2 separate regions of the Homo sapiens genome follow, and region 2 is linked to region 1. The links are contacts of gene promoters, found by promoter capture Hi-C in human tissues and cell types (Jung and others, 2019). All regions are on one chromosome and are shown on one strand. The core of a region is centred on a gene start or on the middle of the fragment in contact, and the rest is flanking DNA. Distances in the headings are between cores, read along the strand shown.

What was found. Contacts are between HindIII fragments. The study calls those that stand out against the background at their distance.
Region 2: a contact is called between a fragment that was not itself captured here and the fragment with the promoter of ZNF665 in region 1, in 1 of the 25 tissues and cell types used here (spleen).

The regions. Positions count from the first base shown.
Region 1 is chr19:53,191,965-53,194,664 of GRCh38, forward strand. It overlaps ZNF665 (zinc finger protein 665), which reads right to left and starts at 1,394. Exons shown (of 4, transcript NM_024733.5): 1 at 1,348-1,394. RefSeq lists an enhancer at 1,210-1,359. The HindIII fragment of the contact is 23,654 bases long and covers 1-2,700 here.
Region 2 is chr19:52,160,075-52,162,774 of GRCh38, forward strand. ZNF836 (zinc finger protein 836) reads right to left here. Exons shown (of 5, transcript NM_001102657.3): 4 at 391-517. Among named protein-coding and RNA genes, the nearest start is that of ZNF836, 10 kb to the right of the region's middle. The HindIII fragment of the contact is 3,609 bases long and covers 1-2,700 here.

The sequences.
Region 1 (2,700 bases), core at 144-2,643:
GTTTCCCTCCCTCATTCTGTACATCTCTCTCATTCTCTTCTTCTCTCTCCTTGTTTCTTTTCTGTGTTTCAGCCTGGGTCTCTGCTCCTCATTTTGAGCCCCTCTCTTCTCCTGCTGTTTCTCCTTCCCTCTATCCTTCTCTTCCACTTGTTCTGTTCCATTCTTGCAACTTGTTTCACCTCTTATTCCTCTTTCACCCGTCTTTTGGTTGTCCCCAATCTCCATCTATTTCTGCCTCTTTCTTCCCTTATCTCTGCTCTCCCTGTTAAATCCCCTCTTCCCTGTTTCACTTCCTTGTCCCCACTCTTTGGCACCCCCAGATCCCAGGTCTCCCCCTGCTGTGGTTCTCCCTCTGCTCTCCTTGTCACCAGCTGCCCCTTCTTGCTGTCCCAGCACCACGCTGCTCTGTCTATCCTGGCTCCAAATACCCCCTCCTCTCCCTAACTCTCCGTCTGAGGAGCTGCCCCTCTCCCTACCTTGCTGTCCTTCATCTCTCTAGACAGCGAGCTTTTCTCTACATTTCTCCAGTTGTTTCTCCATCCTGTTACTTTCTCAGCGACTTCTTTCACCCTTACTGTCTCTTTGTAAATCCTGACCCATCCTCTACTTTGCCATGTTTACTGGTTTCCCTCATTCTTTCCTCTGTCTCCGTTTTTCTACTTTTCTCTCAGCCCCCCTCTCTGTCTCCTGATCCCCTTGGCCCACACATTCACAGGGAGGGTTTGGAGTAAGACACCTGGATCCTGGAGGAGCACATTTTCCAGCGGGTGGAGCTGGGCAGGCAAGAACACCGGGTATCACAGGACAAGGCCCGGGCACCTCCCCAACGCGGGCTCAGGGGAAACGGTGACTGCGAAGGGGAGGCCTAGGGAGCAGCAGGGCCCGGCACGAGGAGGAGGGAGGTGGGGGGCGACGGCGCCTTAGGAGAGGGGTGGGGTATGCAGGATCCCAGGACCAGGCAGAGGCGCGGCCTCCCCGGGACTGGGGCTGCGGCGCTAACGCTCCAGTAGCTGACTAGGGCGAGGTTAGGGGACGGTAAAATCCTGCACCCACTTCGCAGATGAGGACTTCACAGGGCGCAGGTCAGTAAAGGGTTTTAAGCAGGAAACGGCGCAGGAAAGGAGGTGTCTGCATGGTCTGAAGGCCGAAAGACCGCGGGCAGGACCAGCCTGTGTGATTTTAACCCAAAGCGATGCGACCCCCAGAGTCTCGCGGCAAAGTCTGAATTTACATGGAATGGAGGGAGCCGTGCGGGGACTTTAAGGGCTATACGAACCCCCGGACATCGGGTACGGAGGAGCAGGGGACTCCGAAACGCAGGTTTAATCTAGATAGAGGGAAACTCACGCGGCGACTAACAGCCTTCACTCCAAGAGATCTGCTTCCGGGTTTGCAAGAAACTGCCCGCGCAGTAGGCAAAGGGGCGGGTTGCGGTGGGGAAAGGCCAGGCGTTGGGAGGGACTGAGAGCATAGGGTGGGCGGGGCCGGGGCGGGGCCTGAACCCTGGAGGCGGAGGTTGCAATGAGCCGATATCGCGCCATTGCACTCCAGCCTGGGTGACAGAGTGAGACTTCGTCTCTCCCAAAAAAAAAAAAAAACAAAACTTAGGCTATCTAAAAGTTTAACCAATGGCCAGTAATATAAGCAATCATGCATATGTAATGAAGGCGCCATAACAACCCAAAAGGAGAGGATTCAGCGGAGCTTCTGGATAGGTGAACACTGGGAGGCTCCTGCAGCGTGGTGCACCCAGGGAGGGCACCAAGGCTCAACGCCCCTTCTCCCATGCCTCACCTCACTGATCCCTTCCATCTGGCTGTTCTTCTGTCAACTTTGTAATATCCTTTATAATACGTAAATCTATGTAAAGTGTTTCCCTGTATTTTGTGAGCCACTCTAGCAAATTCGTTGAACCTGAGGAGGGGGTCAAGGGACTCCTGGATTTATATCTGATCTGTAAGCACAAGTCACAACCTCTGCTTGAGACTGGCATTGAAATGTGTGCACTATTGTGGGACTGAGCCCTCAACGTGTGGGATCTGATGCCATGTCCCGGCAAAATGGAACGGAATGAGAGAACACGCACCTGGTGTCTGTGGCAGGATTGCTTGCTTGGTGTGTGTGGGAAAACCCAGTACCTCTGGGCTAACTGTAGCATTCTGTGTTGTGAGAGAACAGTAGAAGAAACTGAATCAGTGTTTCCTATATTCTTAAATACGAATATGTGAGGTTTGTTGTTGTTTTTTTTTTTTTTTTTTTTTTTTTAGACAAGAGTCTTGCTCTTGTCGCCCAGGCTGGAATGCAATGGCATGATCTCGGCTCACTGAGCCACCGCCCCAGCGTGAAGGCATTTTTGAGCAAGTTATGTCTCCCTAATTCTGTTTTATTGTACTTTTCCCTAAGTAGTTATAATAGCCTCTAAATCTGTGTGGAGTTTTCAGTTTTGTGGACAATACAATAAATAGACAAATAAAAACCCAAACACAAGCTGATCTCTATAGAAGTGTTAGATATTATTTTCAACACACTAAGTGATACTCCGTATCTAGATAAGCTAAAGCACGAATGATGTCTTCTGAGGTGACAAGGTCCACAGTGGCTTTACAGAAACACTGGCCAGAAGTAAAAACTGTGATGATAATGGCAATAGCAATGACTGACTTTTCTGAACACTATGTGCAAGGCATTATTCGGAATACT
Region 2 (2,700 bases), core at 136-2,635, 1.0 Mb before region 1:
CAGGAGGCTGAGGTAGGAGAATTGCTTGAACTCAGAAGGCGGAGGTTGCAGTGAGTTGGGTTCACGCCACTGCACTCCAGCCTGGGAGACAAAGCTAGACTCTGTCTCCATTAAAAAAAAAAAAAAAAAAAAGTACCATTATACTGACTAATACTTAAATATGGGAATTCTACTAAGGGCACAGGACAACAAGGGAAGACATTCAAAAAGGGGATAGTGTGATGATATGGGAAATGAAAGGCCAGATGCAGCATTATGAAGCTTTTTATTTGTGAGTCAACAAGGCTTCAGTCTCAGTCAAATAATGGAAGGGCTCCCAAGAAAGACAACAGAGAAAATACAAAAATACACGAGGGCAGATCTTAACTTCTAGAGCAAAATTATCCTTACCCAGGAAGACCAGGTTCCTGTAGTTCTCCAACATCACATCCCAGTACAAAGCTTTCTGCACAGGGTCCAGGGATTTCCACTCCTCCTGAGAGAATTCTATGGCTACATCCCTGAATGTCAAAGGTCCCTGAAATGAAAAACACATTTCAACATGAGCAATGGGAGAGCTCTTATCTATACATAAAATGAGAAGAGGAGAGAACTGTCACATCAATTTGATTGTGTGTTTTCACATATCCATGCAAGGCATCTGTGAGAAGGTTATGTGTCCCTAATTTAAGTTTGTTTTAAAATTCAATAGAAGATTATGATATCCCGTAAATCAGTGTAGGCTTCTCATTTTTGTGTACAATGCAAGAAATATACAAAGAAATGAACACGTGGTTATCTGTATAAGTATTAGATATTATGTTCAATATATCAACTGAGTGTCCAGATGAGCTAGTATACAAGTGGTGTCTTGGAGATGACAATGTCCATAGAAGCTTTAAAGAAAGGTCAGAAACTAAAAACTGTGATGACCACAGCAACAGCAATGACTGAAGTTTTGGAACACTCCCCATGTGCTGGGCATTACTCCAAATGCTTTACATGTTCTAATTCAAATAATAACATAATAGATAGAGAGATAGAGAGATTTGTTCCCATGTTACTAGGAGACAACTATGTCACAGAAAACGCTAAAAAGTCACCTAGGTCAACAACCTGAAAATGGCAGAGCAGGCATCTAAATCCAGATGTCTGAGAATCAGTCTTGAATCAAAAGAAACAAATGGTTAAATTATGGTTACGGTATGTCTTAGTCTCTCTGTGCTGCTGTACCAAGTAAAACAGACTGGGTAATTTATGAACAATAGAAATGTATTTCTCATGATTCTGCTGGCTGGGGAAATCCAAGATCAAGGTGCCAGCAGGACTGATGTCTGGTGAGAGATGATCCTCGCTTCCAAGATGGTCTTGTTGCTGCACAGGGGACGAATGCTGTTGTCCCCACATGGCAGAAGGGACAGAAAGGGCAAAAAGCAGTGAACTCCGTAGAATAAGCCTTTTGATATCTCATTGACGAGAACACCATACCCACTGATAAAGGCAGACTTCTCATGATCCAATCTCCTCCTAAAGGCCACGACTCATAACATTTAAAGATTAGGCACTGGGGATTAAGTTTCAACATGAATTGTGGAGGAGAAAAAAAAAAAAAACTCAGACTGTAACATTCCACCCCTGGCCCCCAAAATTGATATACTTCTCACAAACAAAATACATTCTATCCTAATGGCTCCCAAAGCTTTATTTCTACAACCAATTCAAAAGCCTATAGTCTAGAGTTGTATCTAACTATAATCTAAATCAGATATGGGTGAGACTCAAACATGCATTTCATCCAAAGGCAAACTGCTTTCTAGTTGTGAACCTATGAAAGCAAACGAGTTATGTGCTTCCAAAATACAATGGTGGGGCAGACACAGGTTAAATATTTCAATTCCAAAAGGGAGAAACAGGAAAGAAGGGGTAGCTGTTCCCATGTAAGGCTGAAACCCAACAGGGCATACACATTAAACACTAAGGCTTGACAATAATCTTTGACTCCGTGTCCCACCTTCTAGACATCCTGGAGTAGAGGTTGGGTCCCAACATCCTGGGGATCCCTGCCCTAGTGGTTTTGTTGGGATCACCCCACATGGAAGTTCTCACAGTGCCTGCAGCTCTCCCGAGCTGGAATCACATACCGGTGACTCTACAGTTTTGGGGTCTCAAAGGTGGCCCTGCTCCCAGGGCTTTACTGGACCTTATCCTAACAGGGACTCTCTGAAGTTGGCCCCACCTCCACAGCTAGACTGAGCATTGCCTTAGTGGGGACTTCCAGGGACAGCCTCACTCCTATGGCATTTTTATGCCTAGGCTCCAAGGATCTCTGAGGCATTCTTTGAAATCTAGATGGAAGTAACCGTGAGTCCACATCTCATGCCCTCTGCACACTTTTAGTTAGCACTGTGTTGATGTTGCCAAGGTTTACAGTTTGTGTGTTGTAACCGACCTCAATCCCTGGTGGACTGAACAAAGCGGGTGAACGCGGGAATAAAAGAAAAAGACAAGAGAGTATATTTGGAAGAAGGGGCCAGGGGGCATCTTGCCTCTAGTGGACAAGGGCCCTGAGCTTTTTCAGCCCTCCAAATTTATTAGGTAAAAGAGATAACCAGAAGTGGGGGTGATTGTTGGTAACTCAGTCGGCCGTTTGGATCACAGCAGGCTTGCAAGACTGCATCCTTCCAACAATAAGCTCTAGATTTCCCAGTAGATAACTTCAAG